Linked DNA regions of Homo sapiens: region 1 is linked to region 2. The links are contacts of gene promoters, found by promoter capture Hi-C in human tissues and cell types (Jung and others, 2019). All regions are on one chromosome and are shown on one strand. Each heading gives the region's core, a stretch centred on a gene start or on the middle of the fragment in contact. The rest is flanking DNA. Distances are from core to core; before and after follow the strand shown.

Region 1 (5,042 bases), core at 477-2,976, 100 kb before region 2:
GGAGTGAAGCCTTGCAACTGTACTGTCATGTTTTCAACTTTATAATTTTATTCTAGTGACTTCTAGATCTTAACTTTGACTTATCCACTGTGGTAAAGACAAATTGAAAGAATTTGAAACATCAGACAACTTAGATTATGATTTTTACGTATACCAGAATAAGCATTATTTTTTTTTTCTTCCTACTGCTATACCTTTCTTCTTATTGGGCTAGGGTTAATAGAAACAATTCTTATGAAAAGGAAATCTATTATTTTAAAATATATGCGATTTCAGACATTGTCTGAGATGAAGGTTACCTTCATGCTATCTGTGAAGAAAAGTTTGCTAAGTAAATGAGGACAATAAACAAAATCTCAGCCCAAATTTTTTACCTTACTTGAAGAAACATATTGTAAGAACCATAGCAGCATCCATTTACATGTAAACATTTTTATACTACTTACAAATTATTGTCATCTTTCCTTAAAAGCTGACCCTCAAAGAACCTCTAGTTGGTAACGTGCTTCTAGCTTCATTTTCATCACCCTACATATTGGAAATTCATGAAAATGCTTTTCTTCGCAAGCATTCCCCCAAAGCTAATTTGAATTAATGATGTTGGTGTAGTTAGAGTTTGTTTATGGTCTGGTACTGCTAAATTCATGATTGACTATATTACCTGAAAAAAATGGGGTTCATTTGCCTGGCAAGTAACAACTCTCCACGAGAACACAGGTTTTTTCTCAATAAGCATTTTATTATTTGTCACAAAAAAGAAGAGCACTGGTGTGTTCTCCAAGGCAGTGTCTCCCTGAGGGAAAGTGACAGGAGGGTTTTACGGGGCAATGGAGAGTAGAGAGGAAGTGTCAGCGCATGTAGAGGAAGGGTCCCACCAGTGGTGCAGATGCAATGAGTCATCACACCAGCACATAGGTCACATGTTATGGTAATGAGGCTATAGCTCCCCTGAGGGGGTTGGTGGGGGGGTGGACTCTAGCATAGTAATGAGGAAAGTTCACTCAGGTTCATTTATAATTTGCCAGGGTCTGTCAGGAGCTGGTGTCAACCAACTGGGTGACCACATTCCACATAGGGTTTGGGACAAAACAGGCTTCAAGACAAGATGCTGTAAAACAGGCTGATTGCTCAAGTTGATTAAATTCCTATAGTCCCTGGAGATCCTCCCTGTCTGCTTACAGATAGATGGATGGGTGAATCTTCAATAGAGTCCACCAGACTTATGTCTTTATTTCCTTAAAACATGGGCCTCTGGGTCTCAGGGGACGCCCTGGGAAGTAGAAAGGATGTCCATTCCTCTCAAGAAGTCTTCACTGGCAGGGCGTGGTGGCTCACACCTGTAATCACAGCACTTCAGGAGGCCCAGGTGGGCAAATTACTTGAGGCCAGGAATTTGAGACCAGCCTGGCCAACATGGTGAAATTCTGTCTCTACTAAAAATACAAAAATTAGCCAGGCGTGGTGGCATGCACCTCTAGTCCCAGCTACTCGGGAGGCTGAGGGAGGAGAATCACTTGAACCTAGGAGGCAGAGGTTGCAGAGAGCCAAGATTGTGCCACTACACTCCAGCCTGGGCGACAGAGCAAGACTCCATCTCAAAAAAAACAAAAAGTCTTCACCATCCAAGACACACTTCCACCTATGACTGAAGACCATAGCTCACCAGCTTCGGGCCTGCTTCAGGGTCCTGAGCTGCCTCTTGTTCATCCTGCCACTTGTGCCTACCTTGGCTGTTTGGTCACTTGGTTTGGCAGCTTGACCATTTTCCACAGCCCTCGGTAAGTAGTGCTCCCCACTTGCTCCCACCAGCGGAAGCCTATTTCCCCTCCCCTCCCCAAGGCCAAATTGCCAGAGAGAGGGAGCAAGATTGGACAGCCCACTCACAAGCTCTCTCGGGGACACCTCATTCCATATAGGTAAACTCCTACTAGCTGCTGGTCTCAATTCTAGATAGCTGTGGACCCCAAAGGATGTAATTAATGCTATCAAAGAAGACACAGTGCTCTGCTACTTGGCTGTGAAAACTTCTCCTCCAAAGTGGAAGGTTTGACGATTTCCACAATAAAAATCTCCCCATGTTCTCCATCCCATTTTTCCCTTCAAAATATTAACATTTTTTGAATTTAGTCAACAAAGTCTACTTTTTCCTTCGACTTTTAAATGGACCCAAACATTTTCCATTAATCTAATTCTGTCTTTAATTGAATACCTCCCCACATTTTCCAGTTTCTTTTTAAAGCATTTTTTATATTCTATTTACAATATCAGAAGATAAAAATTAAGTATCCATAATGAAATCACTGTTTTTGTATACAAAATATGAAGTAAGTACAACAAAAATTATATTTGGGGGTATAAAATATGAAAGGAAGCCCCTGCCCTCACCATGACTCCTGGCAACTTCTTGGATCAGCTCCGATAAAAGTTTAGTGCCTTTCCTTCCAGACTGTTTCTGGGCTTACACAAACATGAACAAATGTTTTCAAACCAATTATCAAAGTTTCTTTGATTTCTCTTTCCCTCTTACCACATGTTATGGGCTGAATTATATCCCCTTGAAATTCATATGTTGAAGTCCTAAACTCCAGTTACCTCAGAATATTATGATATTTGACAATAAGGTCTTAAAGAGATACTTAGGTTACAATGAGGTCATTAGATTGGGCCCTAATCCAATATGATATGTGTCTTTATAAGAAGGATGAGAAAGAGGAAATCTGAACACGGACATGTGCACTCATAGCAGGAAGACCATGCAAAGACACCAGAGTAAGATGGCCATCTAGAAGCCAAGGAGACAGGCCTTAGAAGAGACCAACCCTGCCAACACCTTAATCTTAGACTTCTAGTTTCCAGAAATGTGACAAAATAAATTTCTGTTGTTTAAGCCACCCCATCTGTGGTACTTTGTTATGGCAGCCCTAGCTGACTAATATACGAACCACCAGGAAATTCTAGTGCCTATTCCTCCAACACCATCTTAAATCCATTCCATTTACTTCTTTCCATCTTCACCACCATACTCAATCCAAGCCATCATCATTTCTCACTGGTTGACAGTGAAAACCCCCGCACCAAGCAGTCTCTTCACTGTCGACTGCAAGCAAACAATAGATACCAACTCCAGTAAGCAGAAAAAGGATTATTGGAAATCTATTGAGAAGTTCACAGAATTGATGAGAAAGCACTAAAACTAGCCTCAGAGATAGGCAAGTAGATCAGGTTACTCCTGTTTTTAAACCTTCCAATGGCTTCCCATCACCCTTAGAATATAGTTCTAACCACATGCCCTGGGATGCCAGATGCCCTGTGGCAGATCTCCAGAGATGGAAACCCATCACCAGAGAGTCAAACAGAATCAATATAAAAGTTAAGCTCATCATGCCTTTGTTGTCATCAATGCTGACAGAGCCCAAGAACTGAAATGCCCTTCACACATGGCTCTTCATGTGCGTGGAGGTTCAGATGTCTGCATGTGGGCCCTGCTGCTTCTGAATGACTTAGTTAAAAGCATTTTAAAGCTCCAACTTAATTAGCTAATTTAAATCCTGTTCAGTTTATCGTCTGTGTACAATGTTCTCTGCACAGGTCCAGAAACTAATGACCATCTTCAACATAATCACTAACATTTGCTTAGTGGTTCACAGTTTACAAAGTGCTTTCACTTACTTTAAACCCTCGGATTCTCAAAATGCTCCTGTGAATAGGTGGGATAGGCATTATTACCTCATTTTAACAGGTGAGAAAACTCAGACTCAGAGGTCAAGTGCACTTTTCAAGCACACCAGGGATAAGGAAGGGGGAAGCTTGGATTAAAACCTACCACTTTTAAACTCTAAATGTCACTTATAATCACCTAATTCACCAGGCATTTTAAATAACCGAGGTTTTGCTGGCAAAAGTGAGGGGGTAAAACAAACAAAGGCCACGGGATCCTAATTCAGAAGCAGGTAGGGGATAAAATGAAGACAGCTGGGTTTTGCCATAGACATGGGAATATCCAGCTCCTGGGTATATGCCCCGCCAGGTTCTAGGGCCTAGAGCAAACCATACACTGAGCACTGCACCCCCCCTTACTAATAGCCAGTCATACATACCACCATGGAAATGGTGAGAGGAGTAAATGAAAATGGAAATCAGGAACCACCTAAAAGAGGAAAATTAAGAAAAAGGAGGCCAGCCCACAAGGTGAGGCAAGAGGCACTGGTAATTGTTTAAAAGCTGATGTTTATGAAACTTTTATCTGCCTGGCTGGAACCTTACCTAAGTATCTCTCCAGCTTCCACCTAGAGACAGTCACTGCAAGTGGTCATGGAGATGAGAAGGAGAAATTAGGAAGAGCAAGAGCAAAAAATTAGGCCGACCTGGGGCTATCCCCTTGATTACCAAGACACCAGGGAGTTGCTGCACTAGGTACAATCTTACTGCCTGGAGAATTTTTTTTTTTTTTTTTTTTTTTGCAAATCAGAAACAAGAGAAGTCACAGCTCCTGCACCCTTTAGTCTATCAGAAAGTAAATCTCCTGGTTGAGGCACCTTCTCTTCAGTGTTGGATTTCCCCCAAGGTGACAGCCCACAGACCCTTGCTTCAGGGGCATGGCCTACGGCACCCCAACTGCTCTCCTGACCTAACCCTACATGCTCCCACTGCATGTGCCAGGTCTGGTCTCAGACAAGAATCCAAAGTGGCTCATGACCAAATGCAAATCACCAAGTACAATACCTCTTTGTAGTTTCTTCACACCTTTCATCCCAGAGTTTCAAAGCACAGTGCAAATGTTAACTTGTCCTCAGACACCCCAGGAGAGGCAGGTAGGTGGCACATGCTATTATCATCTCCCGTTTATAGAAACAAACCAGACTTTGAGCCATGAACTCTCTTGCTTGACGCCTCATGGTGAATAATTGTATGTCCTGGGGACCTATATCTAGTCATTAACTATATCATGTTACGGCTGAAATACCACAAATATCAGCCCTCTGCTAACTATTTTCTTACCTTATTTTCTTCTTTCTTTCTTCCTTTGGACTCTAAGTTCTCAT
Region 2 (5,057 bases), core at 1-2,500:
TAGGCGATGCAAGTTATCTCTGGGGCCCGGAGGACACGAGTGAGGACCGGGCACCAATCAGGTTCTCGCTCTGCGCCGGCCTTTGTTCTCACTCGGGAGCAGGTTGCGGGCGTCTAGCATCGGGAACCCGCATTCGACTCGGACGCGCATTGCTAGCCCCTTCGGGAGACCTGGCTCCCCTACCCGTCTGTCCCGCCACACTCGGTCAGCCTGCGCTTTCCCCAGTCAAGTCTGCCTTCTCTCCGCAGAACGTGGACGCTAAAACCCTGACTTACCATTTTAAGCTTTAGAAGAGGTAGGTTTGTCCCAATAGTTTTAAACGACAATTTGTTCTCTGAACCTTCCTTTCTGAGCAGGGCGCTGTGCTCTGCATGTATCCGAACAGCTGCCTCAGGAAGGTCTTTTGGGTGAGAAAACAAGCCCCTTTGGCCTTTTAGTGCTGGACAAGTAAATGAACTTACATCTCTAAGATAACTGCTAGAAGGTGCTTCACAAACAAGAGGAAACCGCTAAACCAGAGGTTTTGTGTCTCTCCCCTCAAACTCGATTACTTGCGTAAATATATATATAACTCAGACATTTATCCCCTATCCGCCTCCCAAGCCTCAAGTAACTGAAATCTTTGCAAAACAAGGTTCACAATAAATGATGCGTAAAGTTCTTTGAGATCCCTGGATACAAAGTACTACATAACTGCAGTCTTCTTTACAGCTAAAGTTAGATTTTGGTGGAGAGAAAGCCTAACCACTGCCCTGAAGGAAGGAACATTTAATCCTCCCACTCCCCTCCCCCTTTCTCGAGAGATCAGGAAATATTTAGCTCAATCTTAGACTCTCTAGCGAGCTCTAGCTCCCAACTATTTATCTCATTCTCCTCACCACTTCTGCAGGGACCTAGAGAAGGGGGCGTAGCTTATCTTGGGGGTGGGGCTTGGAGGGCAGTATATTTGCATATGACACACCCTCGTCCTCTTATTGGCAGAGGAGAGCAAACTGTTCCCTGCTACCCTACTACTTAGCTAACCGCCACCTCCCTTCAGTTCCGAGCCTCGGAGATAAACTTAACTTGCCCGGAGATTCAAGGCTTCCTCGGCCCCTGCGATTGGCCGGCGCGACTCCCAGTCGGGCTCTCGTTGCTCATTGGCTGCGGGCTAGCGCCCTGGGGGCGTAGCCGGAGCTGTCCGATTGGCGGGAGGGGCGGTACCGGAGCGTGGAGGTGGTGAAGGTGGTGGGGCGGCGGAGGCGGGGCCGCACTGAGGCGCTGCGGCGGCGGTGGTGGCGGTGGCAGCGGTGGCGGCTGCTCGTCCTAGCCTGGCGGGGGCGGGGGTCTGGAAGATGGGGGCGGGTGGAACAACGGGCCGGTGAGGAGCAGCCGCCGCCGTCTCCGCCGTCGCTGGGGCAGCTGCCGCGGTGGTCGCCTCTGGCAGTGCCGCTAGCTTTCAGGCAGTCGCCTCTCCTCCCGACATCCCGCCTTGAGGAGGCTGAGGCGGAATCGCGGCTGGCGGCGGGGGGACGGACCGGCCCTGCAGTGGCCGCAGTGACAGCCCGGACCCGGCCCTCCGCCCGCTCTCGCCTCGGCGCCCGCAGCCACGATGAACCGGGGCGGCGGCAGCCCGTCGGCCGCCGCCAACTACCTGCTCTGTACCAACTGCCGGAAAGTGCTGCGGAAGGTACGGGTTCGGCCCGGGGTCCTGCCGGCGAGGGTCGCTTCCTGCCGGCCGGGGCTCGGGCGGCTCGTCCCCGGGCGCGCACTGGGGGAGGCTGAGAGGGATCCCCGGGCACCGTCCCTCCGCAGGGACTGAGAAAGGGGGCGTGGGTTGAGGGCAGGAGGGTTTGGACTACTGCGGCTTTTTATTTCCGCCGGGACAGACCCAAGTCTGGAGGGGTTGGGATATTTTTTCTTCCCTTGTTCCTTTTATTTGGTGCCTTTGCTCTCCTTTACGGCTCATTTCCCTACCTTGCTACCCCGGGTCGGCTCCTTGGGCGGAGGGCGGGAGGGATCCGTTCGATCCTCCTCCCTGTGCAGTTTAGCTGTTGATGGAGGTCGGTGTGAAATCAGAGCAGCTGGGTCGGATCCCGAGGAACCTGGCCCCTCTTTGCTGTGGCTAACTCTTGCGAGTGTTGTTTTTGTTTATTCGGTTGCTTCTGCCTTGCGCGCCTTGCTCAACAACCCCCGTTTTCAAATTGTTTGGATGGTAGTCCTGTGTCTGTAGTTCAGTCTCGAAAGGAACCAGTAAAGCATCTTGAACTTTATGCCCATGGGAAATGCAATTCGACCTGGCCAGTTCCTGAGGCTGGGGTTGGGGGAGGAGAAGACTGAGGTGGATGTGGGTTATTCCTCCTTAGCACCCCCCTGCCCCCGTGTTGATCCAGAAAAATGAGGCGCACCATCAGTTTATTGCTGCTTCCTAGAGTGACTGATAGAAAGTTTACTCCAGTATTGTTTAGCTTACTTGGCTTAATCGCCCCGCGGGGAAGGGCGAGAGGGATGGGGAAGGGAATGAAAAAAAGGTCTCTAGACTTTTTGATCAGATTTTAACAGCTGCCCCAAAGTAATATTATAATCAGTTTATTCGTATTCAAACTCTATTTTTACATTTTATTAAGTGGAAACGTTAGGTGAGATGCTTCTGTTTGTTCACTACAAATGAATTAAAATTGCTGAGCTGTGCAAATGCATCGGGACTGAAAGCGGAGATGAATATGGTACCGTTTTTAGTCAACATCTCTAAATACGGTTCACTTTGGGATTGTTCTTTCTACATTTTTTTTTAAAAAAGGAAGAAAGAAAAAAGCACATAAGTAAGCAAGCTCAAATATTTGCGCTCTTTGTCCAAAAACTGTTTTTCTTCCTCTGTGGGTCAGGCCAAGTGCCAATCAAAGTTGTTTTTCAAGCCTCTTTTCCCTGCAGTAGGGCTGCTGCTTTTTTTTTTCTTCCTATTTTATTTGAGAGCGTGAGAGCAAAGGGATTGCAGATTTGAGGTTAATTGAACAGTTAAATATGCCTTAAATTGTGTTTATTGGATATGTTTCTCTTGAAACAGATTTTTATTAAATGTGCATGTTGAGTATGTGCAGTTATTTTTTTCCATAAACTCTAGGATCAAATTACAGTTGATACTTGCTCAGCTCATTGTAGGGTAGCTTGTGAGAAATGTAATGGATCAGAAGTGCAGATCAGCTTAGTTGGATGTTAACTCTTTCACTGCAGGGCCAGATGTCATCTGAACTTAGCTTTCAAAAAAATTTATTTCTTAATTTTTAAATTTATGTTATGTCTTTGACATGAAAAAATGTGTCATTTAAGACATGTTTGATTAAAGTGCAGCCTGGTTAAAATGACAGCAAGTTATGCTTTTTAATTGAATAAGGAAAAAGAGCACTGTATTGACTTTGATAAAAAAATTTTTTAATGGCTCTGGCAATTTGTTAGGCTAATAAAATGTTTGGAGGTAATATTAGGCTTCAAAATGTATTTCATTTTTCTTTTGAGAGAGCTATGGCTATGGATCCATGACACTTTGCTAGCATTTAAGATATTACATCTTTCCTTTAGCTTTTAGGAAACTATTTCTGTTTACCTAGAAAGAACATCCTCATTTCTAGCCATTATTAAAAGAAACGTGGAAAAAGAGTATTCACATTTTCGTATTTTATAATTGCTGAGCACATCTCTGCCAGTATTCCAGTTTTTAGTAACTCCAAGGTATTTAATATTGATTCATGCAGTGGCATGAAATAACTTAATGGAAATAGGATTCTTTGAGCCAGTTATAACATGACTTGGCAACATTTGCAGCTTTTTAAAGAGTGCCACTTTGAAGTGCTCTTAAGAGAATCAGTATGTAGCATTTTAAATGTTTCATCATTCTTAAAATAACAATGAAAAGTTTATTTCTAATAAAGACATGTTTTTCTTGTTGATATAACTCTAAGTTAAAAGTCATCTATAACTCTCAAAATGTGATTCTTAGAGTTTATCTTGTTTTCCATTTAATAAAGTGTTCAGTAATGTAGCCAAGTGAGTCATAGTATTTTGAATGTTTGTTCAGTCTAATTCATAATGGAAGAATGAAACTCATGCTCATCCAGTGTGAATTACTTTTGCTTTTATATTTCTATATAATGATGGAAGAAGGGTCACCTTTATATGGGACAGAAAGTGTTATTCTCTCAGTAGGTGGCTTAATTTGTTGCAGTGTGTTGAATTTTAGGGGAACTTCACAAGGAATGGAATTCACCTTCAAATGAAATAATATGGTTTAACCCAATGCCTGAATATTGAATTATATATTGTATGAGAATTACATTTATTCTTAGAAGTCCGTTTACGGTTTTGATTTAGTATCCTCCAAAATAAAGAGACTTATTAAAATATTGAATGTACCTAATTTGGTAACCTTAGGACAGTAAAAAGAATGGAGAGGTAAACCATATCCATAAATAAATTAACCATCAAAACTATCCTGAAATCCCTAACTCTTAAGTCTAACTTGCTCTATTGTCAATGAGGTAGTTCAGTAAAGTTTTTAATAAAAGAGGAAATGCTTCTATTTATTTTGTAAAGTTAACGAGTTTTTAAGTTTAATCTTTTACTTGAAGAAATTCTAGTGATAACTAGAAGAACATAATCCTTTAATTTGAAAAGTCATGTGTCAAACTGCATTGAGGAAGGTAGGTAATTATCAGTCCACTCATCTTCCAGTAAATAAAAAAGTGGCATATTCCAATGTACTTTGGGTATTGAGCAGTTAGTGCTACTTAAATGAATAGTTTTGTGCTCTTTAGAGGATCTAACATTTAAACTTTTTTAATGTTAAGATAGTTATAGTGATATATCTTTGTATTGTTATTGCACTTTTCACTTTGTTATATGATCATATATTTTGACATCTTTTTGATGGTTTTATAAACAAAGATACTGTCAAAATGAAAAATACTAGATTGAGGACCGGGCATGGTGGCTTACGCCTGTAATCCCAGCACTTTGGGAGGCCAAGGTGGGCAGATCACGAGGTCAAAAGATCGAGACCATCCTGGCCAACATGGTGAAACCCC

The links. Contacts are between HindIII fragments. The study calls those that stand out against the background at their distance.
Region 1: a contact is called between a fragment that was not itself captured here and the fragment with the promoter of SESN3 in region 2, in 3 of the 25 tissues and cell types used here (bladder, dorsolateral prefrontal cortex and hippocampus).

The regions. Positions count from the first base shown.
Region 1 is chr11:95,332,052-95,337,093 of GRCh38, reverse strand. No RefSeq gene overlaps it. Among named protein-coding and RNA genes, the nearest start is that of SESN3, 100 kb to the right of the region's middle. RefSeq lists an enhancer at 1-492. The HindIII fragment of the contact is 6,191 bases long and covers 1-4,821 here.
Region 2 is chr11:95,227,395-95,232,451 of GRCh38, reverse strand. SESN3 (sestrin 3) reads left to right here and starts at 1,250. Exons shown (of 10, transcript NM_144665.4): 1 at 1,250-1,669. The coding sequence starts at 1,592. It overlaps LOC100129203 (a long non-coding RNA gene), which reads right to left and starts at 2,266. Exons shown (of 6, transcript NR_110295.2): 1 at 1,957-2,266; 2 at 879-1,327; 3 at 276-400. RefSeq lists enhancers at 1-231, 232-871 and silencers at 1,227-1,376, 1,387-1,696. The HindIII fragment of the contact is 13,238 bases long and covers 1-3,854 here.